Regions from separate parts of the Homo sapiens genome. Here region 1 is linked to region 2. The links are contacts of gene promoters, found by promoter capture Hi-C in human tissues and cell types (Jung and others, 2019). All regions are on one chromosome and are shown on one strand. The core of a region is centred on a gene start or on the middle of the fragment in contact, and the rest is flanking DNA. Distances in the headings are between cores, read along the strand shown.

The links. The method cuts DNA at HindIII sites, captures the fragments that hold promoters and counts their contacts. A contact is called where the count stands out against the background at its distance.
Region 1: a fragment that was not itself captured here is called in contact with the fragment with the promoter of CORO6 in region 2 in 2 of the 25 tissues and cell types used here (H1 embryonic stem cells and dorsolateral prefrontal cortex).

The regions. Positions count from the first base shown.
Region 1 is chr17:29,543,359-29,548,742 of GRCh38, reverse strand. TAOK1 (TAO kinase 1) reads right to left here. Exons shown (of 20, transcript NM_020791.4): 20 at 1-5,384. It also overlaps the pseudogene LOC124904148. Among named protein-coding and RNA genes, the nearest start is that of ABHD15, 21 kb to the left of the region's middle. The HindIII fragment of the contact is 5,004 bases long and covers 1,439-5,384 here.
Region 2 is chr17:29,620,315-29,626,334 of GRCh38, reverse strand. CORO6 (coronin 6) reads left to right here and starts at 3,423. Exons shown (of 11, transcript NM_032854.4): 1 at 3,423-3,647; 2 at 4,851-5,111. The coding sequence starts at 4,914. It overlaps SSH2 (slingshot protein phosphatase 2), which reads left to right. Exons shown (of 16, transcript NM_001282129.2): 16 at 1-397. RefSeq lists enhancers at 1,623-2,822, 5,730-6,020 and a silencer at 3,610-3,759. The HindIII fragment of the contact is 11,130 bases long and covers 801-6,020 here.

The sequences.
Region 1 (5,384 bases), core at 2,691-5,190, 78 kb after region 2:
AAACTAGGTCAATTTGTTAGCTACATATTTACAGATAATTACATGATTTTTCACTCACAAGTGCTGAACACTTTGAGTGAAAGAAAACTGTGCAGGTTGAATTACCCGTACTTTGGGGGGAATTCTGGGTATCAAGATACCCTTTTTCATTCATTCAAAAGTCTCATCTTCTCTCCACTTTTTCATGACAAACTACCTACAGATGTTCAGATTAGTATATCCAGTGGGCATCCTGGTGTTTCAGTGAGGATTAACCTTTTTCTCTATTTAAAGAATTCCTTGTATATTTAGAAACAAAACAATACAATCACACAGACATATATACAAAAAAAAAATACACCTCTGAAACTTCAAAAAGTTTAGATTGCTGGGAAACAGTTAACAGTGATGGTGACATAGTAAATGGCTCCCCAGTTTTAATTCTCTGCCTTTATTTTCTTTAAAGGATATCTATCTTTGGGTGGGTAGGAAGTGCAAGTTTAAGAAACCCACAACAGGCAGATAAGGTGCATACTAATTTATATATTTCTTATGATCTAAAGACTACCGTTAAGCTAAATGGAGTCTCTTCCCTTGTATGAGTGAAATTTTGGAAATCTGAATACAAACAAGGAGGAAAACATTAGTCAACATGACTTTAAAGGGAACTACCGGAATTCAGCAGAAAATATAAATGCACAATAAAGGAAGAGTTCTCAGCTTCACTTTCTTTTTCTAGACAGTGTTTAATAAAACTTACTTCTTTACAAATTAATAGTCATTTCCAATGCAGACCTATTGTAGTGATTTCATAAAAGTGCAGACAACATAACCAGACACAGCAAAACAGACTTCAATCAGTAGTCCTTGCATACAAGAGGCAAGTCCGCTAAGTGTACAGCCAACTCTTCATCCTTTAAGGGATCTGAGGATGGGAAATTTCCAGTTCTTAAAAACTAAGAGTGAGTGAGTCTCTTTTAAAAGGCAATGCTACAACCTGGTTGGGGGCACTATCATGTTAGATGGGGGAAAACAAAATAGATAATTTGTTTTTCTTCAATAATGGTCTGTATTTTGGTAAACAGCTCAAAGATGACAGCCCAAGTTTTGACATTGCTCTTGGAGAAGGCTCTTTTCTATCTAAGACAAGAGAACCTCTTCTTCCATCATTATAGGAGATTCACACTTATATACCTTAAATATATTATTTTTTGATTTGAATACAGAAGACACTTCACATTGTGAGCACAGGACAAAATGCAGGACCATATAAATCTCCAAGGAAAAAGTTAATGTGTTGGGGCAAATCTCTACTTGAATAGTAGTGGCTCAGAAGTGGTGGAAGGTGCACAAAGAACTTACTATTAGCAAGCAAGAAGAGGCAGGTAAAGGGAGAAAGCCCCTCACCCAATACCAAATCCTTCTCTCCCAGTGGCCATTTCCTGTTGATTTTACAGTTCAGGAGAATCTTAGATGCTTTAGCAGTAATTCCTTTCTTGGCTGTTTTGATCCTCAGCAAAGTATATAATTATTAGTATTAATGGAGTAAAAAAAGTAAGAGGATCAATGGTATCACTACTAAGAAATACATATAGAAAGCACATAAAGATTGTGTGATTTATTGGTTCTTTTTCTTATCATCTTTGCAGAGGAATCACCATCAGTGTTCTTACTTTCCATGGTTCATTTCTCTCTGCATTACTTATCTCTTATTGCATCACAACACAAACTCACAGAAACACTAACTGGCTCCTTCCCCAGCACCATTTTACTGCATTGCAACTTATGATTCCAAATTTTACTTAATGTCCTCTCCACTCACAGAAGTGCTAAGAGGGGATTAAAAAGGAAAAGACTGCATCTAATGACCACCTTCTCATAAACATCAACGCAGAGTACTCATTCTTAAGAAACACATGCATTCTTGCCTTAACTGAGGACTGAAATAACAAAACCAAACAAAAATAACAGAACTTTTAAGTGCCCTGATGGAAATGTACAGTATGAGTTACATCCATCCATCTATACACACATACAGACACTCATATGTATATACAATATATACATACAAATGATAATAGCTATACCAAAAATGTGCATATTTAATACAGTTTTAAAAAGCCAGTAGATCATGGTATAATACAATTTATTTCCACTAGTGAATGGCACAAATGGAGAAATGCAAAGGAGGTGTTTCAAGTACAATGAAGTCATTTTTCACAGGTGAAAATAAATAGTATTATTCCAGTGTCCAACATAATGTATTCTACAAAAGTTTAAAATGCCAGACATTTAGTACTTACAGAAATAGAAAGTTACTAAAGTCTGCTTTATGGTCTCAAAAAGACACTCATAGAGTTTTCAATTTTTGAAAAGGGGGTGAGAAAAAAATTGGTGGAAGCAGGAGGGAGTGTCCAGGATAGTTTCTTTAGTGTACTGAATGTTTACCTGATGTCTAGGCAACCAAAAATCATGACTATGCTAAAATGTTCCATTTACCAACAAATCCTTGACCTAGAGTACTAAGCATATTACACCAGTGTGTGTGGCTTCAAATACAAGACTCTCTATCTCTAGGTATTGAAATGGCGAATAAGAATTGCAGCTCTGAAAATATAATATAAACACATTTTTCAGATAGCATTATACAAATAAAAATACTTTTGGATACTAGAATTTGGGGTTAGAGCTGACTTCAATAAGGGGAGGAAAAAATATGTGCAAAGGGAAGGGAGCTCAATTTGGAATAATATATTTCAAAGTATGTGGCTTTGCATTTTTAAAATGCTAACCAAAAAAAATGTGAGATAGAGTGACCCCAAGGAACTTTTTACAGCCAGCCTCTGGATACCAGATATAGCATTTACAACTTCTGATATGCTAGACAAATTTTCCATAGTTTTAATTTTCTTAAAGACATATAGTGAGTGAACACCAACACTGGGAAGGAGGTAGTGTTAATTTGATCAAATATTGATATTTCCCCACTGATTCAGAAAGTGCTTGCTCTTTCTCTAGGATATCTCAAAACCCTTCCAATTTTTCTGCTACAAGCTTTACTCTATGATGGTTCCTACTATGTATGAGATTCCTCAGAAGCTAGATCTCACAAACATATACAAACCAATTAATTTGAATCATTTTTTGCAAACTGTATATACTTTAAAGTTAACTTAATGATAAAATCCAGGTATAGTCATGACCTACATGTAAAACTGGTGGCCAAATACATTAGATACAAAACCCTACTGGAGATCTGAATGGACTCAGTAACTCTCAATTTGACTAATTTAAGTCCACAATTGGACTTTAAAATGTACCACCAATAATATTTTGGGTTTGAAAGAGTTTTTGTATGCAAAAGTGATCTGCTTCCCTATTCCACCCATCCAGTAGTACAGAGCAGCCAGATCTATGAATAATTTTTAAGGGTATCAAATTGTATTTTTGACATTTTATTAAATTCTAAAGCTCTCTCGTCATTTTACACCAAATAAGTAATTTCTCAATTTGTTGGAAACGCTATAATACCTGAATGCAAAAAAGATACTGAGACGACTAAAAGCCCCTTTCACTGATATTACAAGTACATGTCATGTCATGTTTACCTAAAAACCGGTGACCTGGAGCATGGGCTGAAAGAACAACACATAAGAGTGCTTCTTGAAACACTGCCTAAAATTTTGTGTGAACTCTATGGTGATCTTGGTTTTAAAAACATTTACATTAAAACATTAATTTTCTTCCAGTTTCCTTAAAATGAATCCCAGAAACTCCTACAGGTGAGGATTCATGGCAACTCGACTGACATACCTGGGAAAGACTTAAAATTTGGTTGAGAAAACCAGGACTTCAACAGTGATAGATTGATTACTGTTTGGTCATTAGTTTGGTCTAGGCAAAGAGTGCCATTGAGAGGGACTTAGAGAGTTCTACCTTGGAGCCCTCTGACTATAGGAAAAGCAGGATCCAGAGTTAGCAGCAAGGATTCTTCAAGACAACTTGGAAGGGAGCAGGACAATAACTTGTAAGAAACTCTGATTTGTCACTGAAAAGGATATTTTTCTTCAAGTCATACTCACAGCTTCCTACCCACCTCCAACACAATTTATATACAAGAAATGGAAAACCAAGAAAATAACTGACTTTTTAGCATTGGGTTCATCCTTCATTGTACAACAAAACATAACAAAACAAAACATGTGCCCCCTGAAAAATAAGAGTTAGCTTTCGTCAAGAGATTCCCTGACCACTATAACTTATTTTACTTTTTTTTTTTAATTGGCCAAACTTCCTAGTTCCTTTTCAGTAGTACTTTAGCACTGAGGCTTGAGACTTGTGGAAGTGGTGTTTCCTATTGTGTGATGTTAACTTGATGCCAAATGGTCACTAAGTCTCAACGAACTAGAAGTTTGTAAAGTACTGCAGCAACGAAAACAGCAATTAAAAATAGAGGACCTGCACATGCAGCAAAATCTACAGTGGTGATGAAGATTAGTCAGCAGCTGGTAAAGTCATTGGCTCAGTGACTCCTGGTTCACTGTGGCAACTAAACATTTAAATAATTGGCTATTCTACTTGTAAACAGAAAATCACATAAGCCAAAAGGAGATAACAATTATGTCTATGTAGTGTGACGAGAATTTCAATAGATGGCAATTTGCAAATATGGCATCAAACACCTCCGGCATTTGATTTGTATTGGCTATATGTCTTTGTTTTTGTACAAACAAAGTAAAAGTACTGTTTGGGGTCTTGGGCATTATAGAGCTTAGCTAGGATGAGATATCACAGTATAAGCAACAAAACGTCAGGACACGTAAGCTTCATCTCCTCACTCTGCTGCGGGACATACCCACCATATGAACTTTCAGGGCCCCTCTCACCCTTCTGGTCTTCCCCATTGAAGGCTCATAGGTTTGTTAATGCAATCCTCACACAACTTGTGATCTCCTTAAGTACCCCCATCTTATCATAATACAAAGAAGGCACAATTGAATGGACAAAAATCACTCACAAGCCTATGACGCATTCAGGAAAAAAGAAAAACTAAGTTGTTTTCTACTCTCTGAAAAAATCAATGAAGTCCTTTAGTGTTCATGGATTTCTACACTTGATCTTAGCCAAAAGGCCGAGAAGCAATGTGTTCATGGATTTCTGCTTTCTTTTTTTAGTCCAAATGAGGCTGAGAAGTCAGATCAATTTAATAACAAATAAATACACTGGTGAGGCAATGCAGGTGTGTACCAGTAATAACTTATTTCAACATATGCTGCCTGCTGTGAGTGGCTCATAAGAATTTGGGATATGGGATAAAAAGGCTTTAGATCTTTTCAGAAACTTCTTAGGATACAGACACCCAAAAGTGATAACTGAAGCCATTTTGCTACGTTCTATTTTTGCAG
Region 2 (6,020 bases), core at 2,174-4,673:
GGTTTGCTTGGCATATCTAAAGGTGCCTTTACTTTTCTTTTTTTTTTTTTTTCTTTCTGCTTTGTTTTGTAGGACTTGTTCTAACATGGAAAACAAGTCCAGAAGACTCTCCTCTGACTGTTACCTTTGCCCCAAGCCACCCCAAACTTTTATGCTCATGTTTTATTAAAGCAGGTGCTCCCTGGAATCTCTGGGACATTTTTGAGGCATTTGAAGCAGAATATAGAGTGGTCTCATCTCCTTCCTTAATCTTCCTGGTGGTTGGGATGTTCCACTTGTATCATAGATTTTTTTATTACAGATATGCTCCACTGTTTTTAAATGTGAACTTGTGCGCAAATGTGCAGATTCAATGTTCTTGTTACAGATTGAATAAATTTTTATTTTGAAGATGAAACGTGTACTTCATCAGATGCAACAAAGGAGGGAGGTGCTGGAGAAGGTGGGAGAGTCAGAAGAGGAAACACAGTGAACACCAGTAGTTTTCAATGATTGATCCCAGTCATGTCACCCTGAAGAGAGAGCTGAGTCCCCAGAAATAAATGAAACACCTCAGCCCACTGAAAAATGTCTAGAAATGGGACATGAACATCATGAGATATTTAGTGGTGCCATTCATCACATACAAGGCAGGACTACCATCTAGGGAGAGCTCAGTTTCCAGTTCCCAATTGCTAACAAAATTTGAAGTCCCCGCCCCCCTCAAAAAAAAAAATCACTGCCTTGAACTAAAGTCAGCCTGCTTCATTCTGAATCATCCATATCAAGTGGGAGGGGCACAGTGCTGGTCTTTAGCTGGAGTGCATGACGGTGAAGGTAAGGTCTTTCACAAAATATTCTAAGGATCCCTGGGATCCCTGACCAATCTAGATAAGTTCAGTCTTGGTTTTCTAGCCAAAGCAGATGGACCAAATCATGGCTAAGTTGCGAGCTACCTCATCCAGAAAATGGCTTCCTAAAAGATGAAATCCATGGCTGTCTTCTATGGATTGCCGTTCAGAGCTAACAGTTCAAAAGGGAGGCACGAAGCCCAAGTAGCTTCTCTCCCTGATTGGTTCTTCCTGCCTTAACTCTGCCCACTCACAGCTCTGTCAGGCCTTGGCAGCCAGAAGAAGGCTAGAGGGCAGGGCTGAGCTACGCCAGGCCCAAGCAAATATCTGAATCCCTGTACCCAGAAAGCACTGCTCTTCCTAGATGATGGAACTGAAGGGAGCACGCATTGAAGGATTCCTGCTTCCTAGTCCCAAGCGCTTCCCTCTAGAAGGGAGTCTCCTGTTCTCTTTAAAGAGAAGGAGGGTGGGGGTAGGGGAGATGCCACTTCAGAGGAGGCAGCACATAAAATCCCTACTCTGCTAAGGAGTGGTGCAGAGTTGGAAAGAATCTGACCCAATCCTGTTCAGAGAGCTGTAAAAATATGGCGATTGAGCCAGGACTGGAACCAGTTTTTTAATTCATTCCAGGCATCCTTTCCTCTGTGCCACACAGTATAAACTCTCAGTTACGTTTTAGCTCAGCACTTGTGAGATAAAGTGGCACTGTCCTTCAGGGAGAGACAGAAATGCATGCTGCTGAAAAGCAAGAACCAGATGCCAGACCACGTGGGTAAGAATCATAGCTACATCAACTACCAGTTGAGGTTGTGATGGGTAAGCCACCTAACCTCTTTGTGGCTCCATTTCCTCAACTGTTAAATAGGGATAACAACAGTACCCACCTTAGAGGATTGTTTTTTGGTTTTTTGTGCGTGTGTTTTATTTGAGACAGAGTCTCATTCTGTCACCCAGGCTGGAGGGCAGTGGCATGATCTCAGCTCACTGCAACCTCTGCCTCCTAGGTTCAAGCAATTCTCGTGTCTCAGCCTCCTGAGTAGCTGGGATTACAGGTGTGCATCACCACACCTGGCAAATTTTTGTATTTTTAGTAGAGATGGGGTTTTGCCATGTTGGCCAGGCTGGTCTCGAACTCCTGACCTCAGGTGATCCACCTGCCTCAGCCTCCCAAAGTGCTGGGATTACAGGCGTTAGCCACCCGCGACCAGCCTAGAGGATTGTTAAGAGTATGAAATTAATACGTATAAAGCCCTTAGTGCCAGTGCCTAGCACATAAGCATGGGTTATTGTTGTAAAGGAGCAACTGAGTCACTCAGGTATTTTCCTCCTAATCATGTGCCTGGAATCTTTAGGTAAAAGAGAGATGACTCACATACCCTCATACCCTGCCCCAGCACCCCTACGCCAGGAGTTATTTCTGGAGCACTCGTAACAGTTTTTTATTCTGTTCCCCTACAAGCCACTGACTCTTGATTTGATTCTGTCCCTACAAGCCACCTGGACTCTTCCTGAGAAACAAAGGAGCCTCGTGGGCCCTTCATGGTTTCTACCACCTTCCCTCCCTTTCCTCCCCAGTGCTGGTTCCTGCCCTTCAGAAGGCTGTGTTCCATTCACTCACTCCCAGGTGTGCCCTGGAGGGTGGGAAGTAATAACTGGCCCCAGATGCCCTTATGATCCAAGGGAAGAAATCCAGGCAATGTGCAGACACTGGGTAGACTGGAGCTACGGGACTGGCTGGTCTTCACTGGCTGTATTTTGATCAGGTTATCTTTAATCTCCTTGACCTCGGTCAACATTCAGTTCTGTGAATATTGGGGGAGACGGGGGAAGCTTACCTGGAACACAGTCGGGCGCCAATTCAAACAAGGCCCAGAAAACATTAGGAGTCTGGCCTCTGAGTTGGCTTCTCTGACCCCTAAAATGTGACTAGAGACCGGTGCTAGCCTCTTCCCCCTGCATCTGGGAGGGGAGGGAGTGTCAAGGTGGGTTCACTTTACACTCGGTCCTCCCCTTGTTCTTTCAGCTGCTTCCTGCCCTGCTCCATGGAATCTCATCTAATGGGGTGAAATGCCTAGCACACAGCCAGCATTTTAGGTTTCTCAAATGATCGCTATTGCCATTCATAACAATAACTAACATTCACAACCCTGTGTCGGGTGCCCTCTCACTTGCCCTACATCAGGATCAGCCTGGGTCCTCATTCTCTAGGGCCTCTTTCCCCCAGGGAGGCCTGGAAGTGCAGTCCCGCAGTCCCGGCCGATCGGGACAGCTAAATTGGGAGCGCGATTGAGGCTGGAATGCGGGTGGAGGCACCTGGTCTCCCTCGGCTGCCCGCTCTAGGGGCGCACGCCCCCTCGCCCGTTCCCTCTCCAAGCGTCCTGCTCTAGGTCTGCGAACCCGAGCCTCCCCAGCCTACCCGGGAGTCATGGAGGGAGGGAAGCAGCGTGCGCACCTAGCACACAGCTGCACATTTATTTTCGATGGTTCTCCGAGGCCGGCGGAAGCTGGGAGGGGAGTCGGGGTCGCTCGACTTTCCCGCCGCTGGAGGGGGCGGGGCAACTTGGGCTCTGGCCCCGCCCCTATGCTAGCCCCGCCCTCTTAGGTTGATGGCAGCGGCAGCTGGGGCTGCAGCGGCGCCGGGCTCTAGAGAGCCGCAGGATCGGCCAGAGTGCGGAGCTGGACACCCGGGTCCCAGATACTACAGACACCCGGAGAGGTGGCTCCTTCGCCCTGAAGCCTTCCTCGGCCCCCTACGCACTCGGGCCCCTTCCGCAGAGGATTCGCAGCGTGAGCGCCCCGCAGCCCGCTCAGGACCAGGTACCCAGCCCCCCACACCCGGCCGTCACCGCAGCCAGCGGAGCGGGCGGGGTCCCTGAGGGGCAGAGGTCTGCGCCTCCTCCCCCCGCGCCGCCAAATTCGGTTTCGGGCGGGGAGGACGTGGTGTCTATATTTGGCCGGACAGCAGCCAGCGCTCCCGGAGGGCGCAGACACCTCGTCTCGCAAGAACGCAGTGTCAGGGCAGCAGGCTGAAGAAGGGTGCAGGGAGGCCGGGCCTCAGGCTCGGGGCCGCAGACGCGCCTTGAAGGGCACACGGATGCTGGGGCTGGGGTGGGGCAGGAGCCACTGGCTGGGGCTTTGGGAGTGCTCAGTGTGTCCTCTAGGGAGACCCTAGCTGGAGAAAAGGCACCTCACCCTCCCCACCCCTGCAAATCTGGCTTGGCCGTGGCGGGGGCAGGGGTGGAGGATGGGGTTGAAGACCCCACCCCTAGAAGAGTTCACTAGGAAGAAGGCCCAACCAGGGCAGAGGACCCAGAGGAGAAACCGGACAAGCCTATGGTAGGCAAAAGCCAGAAGACCATGATCAGGGCTTCCTGGAGAAGCCAGTGCAGAAAGGAGTGGGAGAAGAGGGATCCACCTCACTCTGTGCTGCCACCCGTCCCCCCACAAGGCATGGGATGAAAACAGTAGCAGAAAGGACTCAGATTGGTGGACAGGAGGAACTTCCCCCTTGGCAAAATTTTAGGAAAAGGCAAAACCCCATCTGCCTGAACTATTCCAGAGATGCGAGTTCGGTATCCTGTGGTGGCTGCAGTCTTGGCCCCATACCTGGCTTTAAGCCAAGATCCAATGGTCAAGTCTTCTGCTTCTGGACAGGGTGCCTCTGGGAGCTACAACCACGTCCGTGAAGAGATGCTCATCAAGGCTGGCGGTGGTGGGGGCGGGGGGTGCAGGCAGTGTGGCATTGAGGCTCCTCCCAAAAACATTCCAACGTCCAGAAAGCTTTCAGTCTGTTAGGCTCCACAATCCCCTCAGCCTGGGTCTCTGTGGAGAATTCAGGCCCCAAATCCTAGCCACTTACATTAAACAGCATTTTACACAGCAAAATAACTTTCCCATACTTTGACCACCTTGAAGAAAGCTCCCTGCTTCTAGGACCAGACACTATATGGATTTATACCTGACTCCTGACCACATAACCCTTCTCATCAGCCACCCCTCCACTCCTCCTCCCTCCCGCAGCTCACAGGACTAAGGACCAAAGGCATTTCTGGGCACTGAGATCCTACCTCTCTGCCTGCAGCTATGAGCAGACGTGTGGTTCGGCAAAGCAAGTTCCGCCATGTGTTTGGGCAGGCAGCAAAGGCCGACCAGGCCTACGAGGACATCCGTGTGTCCAAGGTCACATGGGACAGCTCCTTCTGTGCCGTCAACCCCAAATTCCTGGCCATTATTGTGGAGGCTGGAGGCGGGGGTGCCTTCATCGTCCTGCCTCTGGCCAAGGTGAGGGATCAGGGAAAGGAAGCAAGTGGGAGGACACTAGCTGGGGCCCCTGGGAACTCCTGAGCCTTTGTTCTCACCTAGTTCCATTCCATAGTCAGGAGAAGCATCTGTGTGGATTGGCTCCTCCCTATTCCCCAAGCCCTCAAGGACCAGAGGGGAGGCCACCCCACCCCACCCTAACATCAGGGTGGCTTACTCCCACTCCCTAGCCCTCCCACCTCTCCATGCACCACCCCATTCCCAGCAGGGACCAGGAGGGGAGCCGGGTGATGGAGATGGTTGGGACACAGCACAGCCAAGCCTGGCCAGATTCCATCACTGCCTCTCCTAATGCCGCATCCCCTCATGTTTTGGGTGTGGAGAACCTCCTCCCTAGCCCAAGATGACCATTTGATTAAGTCACATCCCAGAGCAGCAAACTGAGGACAGGGTCAGGCTCTATCCAAAGAGTCCCTGGTTACCTCCAAGGACACTTGCAGTGAAGTAGAAAGAAAGGGAACGGAAAGGAAGGGGGACATGACACATAAAGCCAGAGCCCTCCCTACCCTCAGGATGGGGACCAGGCAATGACTACCACGTTAGCTTCATAACCTTAAGCCCCTTGACCATCCACATCCCAAGGATGACTCTCCCCCAACCCCCAAGGTATGACCTTGACCTGGATTCTGGCCCCTACACCTTGTTAGGGTAGGCTCCACAGGTGGCGGGGTCAGGAAGAGGCCTGAAAAAGCCAGTGACTCACCCCAGACAATGCAGACATCATCCTGGGACACAGCCCCAGGGCTCAAATTTCAGCCGGAGCTGCCTCCTCCCCCAATATGTCTGCTCTTTCAGTACCACATAGCCACCCTCTCCCCCGCTGCCTGGTCTGGACCAGTGTCTGCCCCTGCAGAGGTCTCAGAACCCCCA